Regions from separate parts of the Homo sapiens genome. Here regions 1, 3 and 4 are each linked to region 2. Evidence: promoter capture Hi-C in human tissues and cell types (Jung and others, 2019). All regions are on one chromosome and are shown on one strand. The core of a region is centred on a gene start or on the middle of the fragment in contact, and the rest is flanking DNA. Distances in the headings are between cores, read along the strand shown.

The links. Contacts are between HindIII fragments. The study calls those that stand out against the background at their distance.
Region 1: a contact is called between a fragment that was not itself captured here and the fragment with the promoter of DSN1 in region 2, in 1 of the 25 tissues and cell types used here (spleen).
Region 3: a fragment that was not itself captured here is called in contact with the fragment with the promoter of DSN1 in region 2 in 1 of the 25 tissues and cell types used here (mesenchymal stem cells).
Region 4: a contact is called between the fragment with the promoter of MYL9 here and the fragment with the promoter of DSN1 in region 2, in 5 of the 25 tissues and cell types used here (adrenal gland, aorta, lymphoblastoid cells and 2 more).

Annotation. Positions count from the first base shown.
Region 1 is chr20:36,565,362-36,568,061 of GRCh38, reverse strand. All of the region lies in intron 2 of DLGAP4-AS1 (DLGAP4 antisense RNA 1), which reads left to right. Among named protein-coding and RNA genes, the nearest start is that of DLGAP4-AS1, 6.6 kb to the left of the region's middle. The HindIII fragment of the contact is 8,105 bases long and covers 1-2,700 here.
Region 2 is chr20:36,772,349-36,775,048 of GRCh38, reverse strand. It overlaps DSN1 (DSN1 component of MIS12 kinetochore complex), which reads left to right and starts at 1,286. Exons shown (of 11, transcript NM_001145315.2): 1 at 1,286-1,387. RefSeq lists enhancers at 435-981, 941-1,020, 1,031-1,170, 1,301-1,360, 982-1,527. The HindIII fragment of the contact is 22,977 bases long and covers 1-1,994 here.
Region 3 is chr20:36,621,710-36,624,409 of GRCh38, reverse strand. The region is part of intron 5 of SLA2 (Src like adaptor 2); the gene reads left to right. Among named protein-coding and RNA genes, the nearest start is that of RAB5IF, 17 kb to the right of the region's middle. The HindIII fragment of the contact is 9,070 bases long and covers 1-2,700 here.
Region 4 is chr20:36,540,076-36,542,775 of GRCh38, reverse strand. MYL9 (myosin light chain 9) reads right to left here and starts at 1,257. Exons shown (of 4, transcript NM_006097.5): 1 at 1,215-1,257. The region is part of intron 2 of DLGAP4-AS1 (DLGAP4 antisense RNA 1); the gene reads left to right. RefSeq lists an enhancer at 1-456 and a silencer at 1,237-1,436. The HindIII fragment of the contact is 24,137 bases long and covers 1-2,700 here.

The sequences.
Region 1 (2,700 bases), core at 132-2,631, 210 kb after region 2:
GGAGTCTTGCTCTGTCGCCCAGGCTGGAGTATAGAGGCATGATCTTGACTCACCACAACCTCTGCCTCCCGGTTTAGGCGATTCTCCTGCCTCAGCCTCCCGAGTAGCTGGGATTATAGGCGCAGGCTACCACGCCCAGCTAATTTTTCGTATTTTTAGTAGAGATGGGGTTTCACCATGTTAGCCAGGCTGGTCTCGAACTCCTGACCTCAAGTGATCTGCCCACCTCGGCCTCCCGAAGTGTTGGGATTACAGGCGTGAGCCACTGCACCCGGCCAATTTCTGTATTTTTAGTAGAGATGGCGTTCCACCATGTTGCCCAGCCTGGTTTCAAATTCCTGACCTCAGGTGATCCGCCTGCCTTGGCCTCCCAAAATGTTGGGATTACAGGTGTGAGCCACTGTGCCTGGCCTGGAATTTCTTTGATGAGAGCTATGCCTTGACAGTCTCATTTTTCCATTGTACTAGAAGGTCTGGGGCCCTGGGAGCTAGTGCGGCATGAAGGCCTGAGTGGGCTCTGTGCCTTGCTGACAGTGTTCCCAAGCTGAGTGGAGGAAGACTAAGGGTCTGGATATCCTCAACACTGAGTACATGAATTTCTGTGTAACCCTTCTGTTGTTGCTGTCTTCTCCTCTCCTGTGCCTGGTGTTCATCTGTCCAGGACCTTCTGTATTCTTTGGATAATAAATTTCTGATCTCTTGTCGGGTCTAGGTTGCAGCCTTCATAGGATCTAGGAGTCCACTGCTTTTTTTTCTTTTTTCTTTTTCTGAGACAGAGTCTCGCTGTGGTGCAATCTCTGCTCACTGCAACATCCGCCTCTCAGGTTCCCGTGATTCTCATGTCTCAGCCTCCCAAGTAGCTGAGATTACAGGCGCCCGCCACCACACCTAGCTAATTTTTGCATTTTTAGTAGAGACATGGTTTCGCTGTGTTGCCCAAGCTGGTCTTGAACTCCTGAGCTCAAGTGATCCACCTGCCTCGGCCTCCCAAAGTGTTGGGATTAAAGAATAGAGATAAGGGAGGCACAGAGGGGCTAAGTAACACCTGAGGTTATAAAACTGGTCATTGGAGGAGGTAGGATTTTATTCCTGAAAGGTTAATGGTAATATTATCGTCTCCATTTCTGACTCTAGTAATTTCAAGTCTTTTTTCTTTTTTTCTTGGTCAGTCTAGCTGAGGGTTTGTCAGTTGCTTTGACTTTTTTCAAAGAACCAACTTTTGGTTTTATCAATTTTCTCTATTGTTTTTCTGTTCTCTATTTCATTCATTTCTGCCCCAGCATTTATTGTTTCTTTCCTTTTGCTTACTCCTGCTTTTGCTCTTCTTTTCTAATTTTTCTGGTATCTTAAAGTGGAAGGTTAGATTATTGATTTACAATCTATATTTATTTATTTACTTTTTTCTTTTCTTTTGAGACAGAGTCTAGCTCTGTCCCCCAGGCTGGAGTGCAGTGGCGCAATCTAGGCTCACTGCAAGTTCCGCCGCCATGGTTCACGCCATTCTCCTGCCTCAGCCTCCCGAGTAGCTGGGACTACAGGCACCCGCCACCACACCTGGCTAATTTTTTGTATTTTTAGTAGAGACGGGGTTTCACCGTGTTAGCCAGGATGGTCTCAATCTCCTGACCTCGTGATCCGCCTGCCTCAGCCTCCCAAAGTGCTGGGATTACAGGCGTGAGCCACCGTGCCCGGCCTACAATCTTCATTTTTTTTTTAAATAGGCACATATGGGCCAGGTGTGGTGGCTCATGCCTGTAATCCCAGCATTTTGGGAGGCCGAGGTTGGGCGGATCACCTGAGGTCAGGAGTTCAAGACCAGCCTGGCCAACATAGTGAAACCTCGCCTCTAAAAATAGAAAATTAGCTGGGCATGGTAGCACATGCCTGTAATCCCAGCTACTCAGGAGGCTGAGGCAGGAGAATCGCTGAAACCTGAGAGGCAGAGGTTGCAGTGAGCCCAGCCTGCGCCATTGCACTCCAGCCTGGGTGACAGAGCAAGACTTTGTCTCAAAAAAAAATTAATAAATAAAAAATAATAAAAAAAATAGGCACATATGGCCAGGCATGGTGGCTCATACCAGCACTTTGGGAGGCTGAGACGCGGGTCGCTTGAGCTCAGGGGTTTGAGACCAGCCTGGGCAATGTAACAAGACCCCATCCCTACGAAAAATAAAAAATTAAGCCAGGTGTTGGTGGCTTTTGCCTGTAGTTTCAGCCATTCCAAAGGCTGAGGTGGGAGGATTGTTTGAGCCCAGGGGTGTGAGGCTGCAGTGAACCCTGATTGCATGACTGCACTCCAGTGTGGGCAATAAAGCGAGACACTGTCTCAAAGGAATAAAAAGGCATTGATAGCTATGAATTTTCCTTCAAGCACTGCTTTAGCTGCATTTCATAAGTTTTAAGCCTTTTTATTCATTTCATAATATTTTCTAATTCCCCTTTGGATTTCTTCTTCGAATCATTCATTATTTAGAGTATGTTGTTTAATTTCCACATATTTCACATATTTGTGAGTTTCCCATGTTTCCCAAATTTCTAATTTCATTATAGTGTCCTCAGAGAACACACTTTGTATTATTTGAGTCCTTTTAAATTAATTGAGGTTTGTTTTATGACCTAGCATATGGTCTTTCCTGGAGAATGTACCATGTCCACTTAAGAATAATGTGGCCCTGGCATGGTGGCTTATGCCTGTAATCC
Region 2 (2,700 bases), core at 37-2,536:
CGTGCTGGGTGCTGAGGAAGCAGCCCGCTCTCTGGAGCCTCCTAGACCAGCATGGGATAGTGGAGCAGGAACAGATTGGGCTCCTGGGAGCACAGAAAGGACAGTTGGTTTTCAGCCTAAGGCCAGAGAGAATGCTTGGAGAGAAATCAATCATTCCTTAGCTGAGGCTTAAAATTCGAGGATGTGGCCGGGCGCAGTGGCTCATGCCTGTAATCCCAGCTCTTTGGGAGGCCGAAGTGGGTGGATCACTTGAGGTCAGGAGTTCGCGACCAGCCTGGCCAACATTTTTAGTGGCCGTCTCTACTAAAAATACAAAAATTAGCCAGGCGTGGTGGTGGGCGCCTGTAATCCCAGCTACTCGGGAGGCTGAGGCAGGAGAATCGCTTGAACCCGAACCCGGGAGGCGGAGGTTGCCGGGAGCCGAGATCGCGCCACTGCACTCTAGCCTGGGCGACAGAGCGAGACTCCGTCTCAAAATACAAAAAAATTGGAGGATGTAGCTAGGAAAAGCAGGGAAAGCCTTCCCAGGCAGAGGGAACAGCGCCTGGGAATATAGCGCCTCAAAGGGCATCTGATGCCCTGTCCCCGTCCTACCCCTAAGGACCAGCCCGACCTGCCGCACCCCCCGACCCCGACTAAGGACACTGCGACCACTTGGGGGCGCTGCGACCTCCTCCCGGGTGAAATGAAACCCGAGGGCAGGCCCCCACCCACCAAGCAAGTAAAGCAAGCCGTTTGAGGGAGTGGCCTGGAAATGAGAGAGAAAAAGTCCTAGAGCAGGAGTGGGATAGACTGTGAGGCAAACTGAGCTCAGAGCTCCAGTCCACCCTGGGGAGAGTCACGGTCCACATTTTGGGAGTTAAGGAGATAAAGGGAGTGGGAACCAGAGCCTAGCGACGGGGACAGGGCATCAGATGCCCTTTGAGGCGCTGTATTCCTCCGGCAAGAATCTCTCCGGGCCTCTGTTTCCCCCATCTTAGATGGGCTCTGGGGCCGTCGGGCGCAAAAGGACACGATAGTGTGGCGGGTCCCGGAAAGGGACTCCCGGGCGGGGTGTTGCGGGGAGGTGGTGACGTGGCCAGACAGGACCTAAAGGACTTGGACTAGAGGAGCGGAGCTGGCAGGAGCGTTGGACGGCGGTGTACGCATGCGCGTCGGGCGGCGGTGTACGCATGTGCATCGCCGGAGGCAGGCGTTCTGCGCGCGCGTGCCCGAGAAACTGACGGCCGCGCATGCGCCCTTGGTTGGCGGGAGTTTCGGAGGCGGTGACCGTGACGTAGAAGGTGGAGACCGCTTCACCCTGATCAGGGAGTATCGGCTGCGGGTGCGCAAGGCGTCCAGGAGTGACCTGGGGCTGTGGAGAGCGACCCGTGGCCTTGTGTTTCAGGTACGGAGGTTCCGGACTGGACGGGCGTCAGGAAGTCACAGACTTGTCCTCTGATGTGGCCCCGCCCGCCGCCGCACTAATCTCTTCGGCGTCGTACCCGTCGGCCCAGCTCGACCCGCCGCAGCCCCGGCCCCGACCGTGGACACTGGGGGTCCCCGAGGGCGCTGCGACCTCCTCCCGGGTGAAATGAAACCCGAGGGCAGTCCCCCTTACCGACCCCATTAGAGACGTATCTGCCGTGCCAGGGGTCTAGGCTCCAGAAACAGGGGTGAGGACTGGGTAGAGGGCTGGGGTTCGAATTGCCCCTGTGCCCCCAGGCTGGCTGTGTCACAAGCTTGGGCCAGGCTTTTTGCCCCTCTGAACCTCAGTTCCCCTGTCTGCAAAGTGGAGTTAATGGTGCTTACGGAGTTGTGGAAGGGATTAAGTGGAATAACGATGCAAGTAAAGCGCTTACATAGCACAGGTCCTAGCACAGAATAAGCGTTTAACAGTTGACAGTTGTTGCTTTTCTAAGCCTGGATCTGTGTGATACAGTCGTTATTATCCAAGCCTGGATTTGTGTGATATTGTCATAAGGACCGTGGGGGATTCAGATCCTTGACCGAGCCCTCCTTGTTATCTTTTCCTTTTTGTCCCTCTGCATATATTCATATCTTTTTACTTAGCACCCCCCACAGACAGATTTCTGCTGGGAGGGAGGGGACGATGAAGAGATGCCTAGGTGACATCCCTGCCTTCCAGGCAGTTGTTCCTGACAGTCACTAGGAATACAAATACAGCCTGGCTGGGGAGACAGACATGTAAACAGATTTTATAGCCAATGCTACGAAGGCCAAGGGGCATAACCACCAACTCTGCCAAAGATAAGTGATGTGAAAGCTTCATATTTGAGCCAGGTTGGGAAGGATGAATAAGTTTAACAGGTAGAAGGACAGATATGTGCAAAGATTCAGAAGTAGTACAGGGAATAGGACTGGGAGGAGAGAGCAGGAATGGGTAAATTGGGACTAGTTTACCTGAGGTGTTGACTACACTTTGGAAAAGTCCCGGCAACTGTCTGAAGAATAGACTGGGCCGGGTGTGGTGGCTCAGGCCTGTAATCCCAGCACTTTGGGAGGCTGAGGCCGGGCGGATCACCTGAGGTCAAGAGTTCGAGACCAGCCTGGCCAATATGGGGAAACCCCATCGCTACTAAAAATACAAAAATTAGCCAGGTGTGGTGGCAGGCACCTGTAATCCCAGCTACTCAGGAAGCTGAGGCAGGAGAATTGCTTGAACCTGGGAGGTGAAAGTTGCAGTGAGCCGAGACTGCG
Region 3 (2,700 bases), core at 134-2,633, 150 kb after region 2:
ACACAGAGTGCCAGGGTGTGAGTGTGAGTACAGGCCTCAGGGAGGCGCGTCCTCAGCAGGCGGTCAGGGAAGACAGGATGAGGGGAGTGGCGAGTTTAGAGTCAGGTCACACAGAGCCTTTCCAGGGAGAGGACTTGGGATTGATTTTAAGTGTGACAGGGAGGATTCTGAGTAGGGGCATGAGACGACCTGACCCCTCCTTCCTGCTGAGAAGAGAGGATGCCGCGCAGGAAGCCGTAGTAGGCTCTCTCCAGGTGAGAAGTGGTTGGATCTTAGCTGTGTTCTGACCACACCCAACAGGGCTTTCTGTTGGGCTGGATGTGAGGCTGAGACAGGAAGCAATCAGGAATGGATGACTCCTGACCTCTTTATCCCTGAGACCACCAACCAGATCCCAAGTGTAGCTACCCTTTCTGATTCTAATAACTGTCGTGACAGTGGCTGGGGTGGGTGGTTCAAGAACCATGCAAAAGTTATAAGGTCTTGGTCACTAGTTCAGCTGGGTTGGTTGGCCTTCTGGGCCTATTTTCAAATATTTAGCGCATTCCCAGCCACAGAATTTTTTAGGGTTACAGCACAGCTCAAGAAGAGACTCTTCTCAAAGGTACAGAATACAGGCCAGGCGTGGTGGTGCACACCTATAGCCCCAGCTACTTGGGAGGCTGAGGCAACAGGATCACTCAAGCCCAGGAGTTTGAGGCCTGCCTGAGCAACACAGTGAAACTGTCTCTAAAAAAGAAAAAGAAAAAAAAAATAAAGGTACAAAGGTCAAAGGGCTCCCAGTCAGGCAAAGAAAACAAAGAAAACGAAGCAGAGACCCTACTGGGGTCAATACACTTCTCAAAGCATATTGACTCTGGGTCACCTTACTAAATTTACTTTTAGTTCTAGTAGCTTTTTGGCAGATTCCTTATGATTATCTACATATGATTGTATTACCTGTAAGTAAAGGCAGCTGTATTATTTTCCAATCCATATACTTTAAATTTATTTTTCTTGTGTTATTGCACTTGTTAGGACCTTTAGTACAACACTGAGTAGAAGCGGTAAGAACATTATTGCTTTGTTCCCAATCTTAGATGGAAAATAATCAATCTTTCCTATTAAGCATGCTGTCGATTTTTTTTTTTTTTTTTTTTTTTTGAGATGTAATGTCACTCTGTCACCCAGGCTGGAGTGCAGTGGCCTGATCTCGGCTCACTGCAACGTCTGCCTCCTGGTTCAAACAATACCTTGCCTCAGCCTCTGGAGTACCTGAGATTACAGGCACACGCCATCATGCCCAGCTAATTTTTCTATTTTTGTAGAGATGGGGGTTTCACCATGTTGGCCAGGCTGGTCTTGAACTCCTGGCCTCAGGTGATCAGCAAGCCTCGGCCTCCCAAAGTGTTGGGATTACAGGCATGAGCCACCGCACCTAGCCTTAGCTGTAGATTTTTCACAGATGCTTTGTATCAGGTACTCTTCTGTGGTAGGCAGAATCATCATCCCCCCCAACAATGTTCAGGTCCTGATCTGCAGCACCTGTGAATATGTTACCTTACATTGCAAAAAGAGTTTGCAGATGTGATTAAGGATTTTGAGGTGGGAAGATTATTTTGGATTGTCCAGATGGACCCAATATAATCACCAGGATGCTTACGAGAGGGAGGTAGGAGGGTGAGAGTTAGAGACAGGAAGATGCTACTGGCTGTGAAGACTGAGGAAGGGGCCATGAGCAGAGGGATCCATATGGCTTCTAGAAACTGGAAAAGGGAATGGATTTCTTCTCTAGAGTCTGCAAAAGGAACATTGCCTTGCTGACACCTTGATTTTTGTCCAGTGAAACTCATTTCAGACTTCTAACCTCCAGAACTGTAAAATAATAATTTGTGTTATTTTAAGCTGCTGAATTGATGGTAATTTGTTACACCAGCAATAGGAAACTAACATATTCTATTCATCGTTTTCTGCTTTTTTTTTTTTTAATCATGAAGGGTGTTGAATTTTGTCAAATGATTTTTCTGCATTTTTTCAGGTGATCGTGGTTTTTCAGTTTTTTGTTTTTTTTTTTTGAGATGGAGTCTCGCTCTGTTGCCCAGGCTGAGTCACCACAACCTCTGCTTCCCGGGTTCAAGAGATACTCCTGCCTCAGCCTCCTGAGTAGCTGGGACAACAGGCGCATGCCACCATGCCCAGCTAATTTTTTTTTTTTTTTTTGAGATCAAGTCTTGCTCTGTCACCCAGGCTAGAGTGCAGTGGCATGATCTTGGCTCACTGCAACTTCCACCATGGGTTGGCCAGGCTGGTCTTGAACTCCTGGCCTCAGGTGATCCACCTGCCTCGGCTTCCCAAAGCGCTGGGATTACAGGTGTGAGCCACCGCACCCAGCCAATGTTCAGCTATTGATTGATTGAGACAGAGTCTTCCTCTGTTGGCTAGGCTGGAGTGTAGTGGCACAGTCATGGCTCACTGCAGCCTCAACGTCACAGGCTCAAACGATTCTCCTGCCTCAGCCTCTGGAGTAGCTGGGACCACAGGCATGTACCACCATGCCTGGTTAATTTTTAAATTTTTTGTAGAGAAAGACTCTCACCATGTTATCCAGGCTTGTCTCAAATTCCTGGCTGGGCTTAAGTGATTCTCCCACCTCCACCTCCCAAAGTTCTTGGATTACAGGCATTAGCCATTGTCCCTGGCCAATGTTTAGTTCTTATTTTT
Region 4 (2,700 bases), core at 8-2,507, 230 kb after region 2:
CAGGGGTGCCCCCATGGTGCAGCTAGGAAAAGAGGCCCCAGAAGGGGAGTGGAGTGCCCATGAGAGGGGGAGGGGCCACCTGGAAGACAGGATTCCTGGGCTAGGTTTGGGTCAGTGGAGAGCAAACTTGGCTGCTGGTGCCCTCGAGGCTTGAACAAAACAGGGAGCCCCAGTCCTCAGGCGGGCCTGTGGCAGTGGAGTGGGAAAGGGCTCTGTGTATCCAGAGGCGCCTTCTAGAACTGGTGGAGGGGCGAGGGGCAGGCATGGGTGGGGCCTTTAGTTCTGAGGCCATCGCTTCCCCCTTCAGGTGCCCTAGACACCAGGGGTCAGCACTGATACTTGGCCTGGATGTGACTGGATGCCATGTCCCCCATCCTGGTGTCCAGATTCCCACCATAACAGAAAAGGCTGGGCTGAAGCCAGCACAGGGCAGTGCCCCCATGACCTCCAGCCCCTGGAGCTGGGCAGGCCAGATGCCTCCTTCTCAGTGCACCTCATCTGAGTCTCCTCCTTAGAGCAGCTGGAGGGCTGGGAAGAGCAGGGATCAGGTTCTCCCAGCCACTAGTCCTCGTCCTGCCCCCTAGGGGTGAGTCCATCAGGGCCCTCCGCAGACCTTCCCCACCCACAGGCGAGATGACCCAGAGAGGGGAAGGCCCGGGTCCCTGCATACAGCACTGGCTGTGTCGGAAGGGCCCCCTGGTCTCGGTCCCTTTCCCCTGGCCCAGGGTGTAGGGATGGGAGATGGGGAGGGGACACAGATGCTGTGGGGGCGTGGAGTCCCACAGGGCTGTTTCTCCATCTGTGACACACATGCCTTTACTGGGCCAGGGGGAACTGACGACTGCAACCCTCTCCCCAGCACCCTTGTACCCGGGCTCCCCAGCCCCCCCCGGAGCTCTGGGCTTGGCATCTCCAGCTCCTCAGCAAAGGGGCAGGGCCTGGACGATGGCCTTCCCTTGCCGCAGGACCACTGCTTCTCAGAGGCCAGAACAGCCTTCCTGCTGCCCGGCCCCTGGCCAGAGTCCCTGTCGGCCCCCAGCAAACTCGCTGCCCCAGCTCACCCCTCAGTCCGTGCCCAACAGACCCTACCACGTCCCAGTCCGTGGGGCCCGCCTTTGCCCCCCGTGACAGCCGGGTCGGGCCCGGGCCACCTCTCATCTCCAGCCCTGGGCCGTTAGGCCTGTCCTCAAGACCCCCGGGGCCCCGGATCCCACCTGGTGCGGAGAAGGCGCTTGGGCTCGCTGGGTGCGTGGAACTGGGCCGGCCGTCGGGTCTGGACTCCAGGCGGGGGCGGGGCGTGGCGGCCGGGCCTTACAAGGCAGAAGAATGTGCGCGGGGCGGGGCCGCGGGCGGGGTGCGGGGGCCCTCGGCTGCCGTCCGGCCTTATTTGGCCTCGACCCACGGGCTGGCAGGCGGGGGCGCTCTGGGGTGAGCCCCCCTTCCTTGCTGTGCCAGCCCGGGCTGCACAGAGGGCCTTGTAGGGAGGGGAGGTGATGGGGTGAGCAGGCAATGGGAGAGGGGGTGTGGGGGTTCGCTCTGGGCCACCCCTTCCCCTCCAGAGAGGCAAACGGAATGTCCAGGGCCGCTTCCCCAGAGGCCTCCCACTTGTATGGGCCGTGGGAGTGCAGCTTCCCCTGACGGGCAACGGCTCTCGACGTGGGGAGGGCAGAGGCGGTGGGTGGGGGGGCTCCCAGGGACCCCTACGCCCGGTGACTCGCTCTGTCCACATCAGCGGTCGCCCGCCAGAGCGGGGTTGAAGGAACCACTCGGGAAGCACTGGTTTCGTGGAGGGAAACACGATGAACAAGTAGCTCCGCGGCCTGGGGCCTCAAAGGAGAAGGGGACCTGGGGGGAGCGTGGGCTGTTCCGCAGGGTGCTCTGGGCAGTGACATTGGGCAGACAGGAGGTGCAGGGGTGCGCCCCGCCGTGAGGGCTCCCGGGCTTGGGGTCGCCGGCAGCAGGAGGTCAGGAGGATGGGGGCGGGAGCCGGAGGGGCTGAGAAGCAGCAGGGACCCCTCTGTGGCTCCCTGTAGGCCATGTGGGGTGTCGGAGGGTTCCGAGCAGGGGGTGACGACCTGGCTTGGGTTTTGACGGAATCCTTCTGGGTGATGTGTTGAAAATAGCGCAGAGGGGGCCGAGTCCACGAGCAGGGGACCTGTGAGGAGCGACCCAGCAAGGATCAGGCTGATCCGGACTAGCGGGGAGGCCGAGGGACAAGTGCTAAAACTATTTCCGAGGTGCAGCCGGTAGGATCTGCTGGGGCATGGGAATGGGTGTGAAAGAAAAGAGTTAGGGTGGACTCTCAGAGTTTTGATGTGAGCAACGAGAAAGAGCTGCCATTTTCTATGATGGGTTTGCTGTGTGGAGCAGTTTGGGGATAAGAAACTCTATTTTGGACAGATTAATTTTTAAAAACTTTATTTTGAAATGATTTCAGACTTAGGATAAAGTTAGAAGAACTGTGCAAAGAACCCTGTATAGCTTCATCTAGATTCTCCATTTGTTACCATTGGGTTTTATTATATTTTCTTCTTGCTTTCCATATACATATACATATATATAATACATGTACATACATTTATATTTATTTATTCCTACCCCCAACCATTTGAGAGTTTCTTGCATACGTATGTCCTGTTATCTCTACATGTTTCAGTGAGTACCTCCTAAAAAGGAGATTCTCTTAAATATGCATAGTAC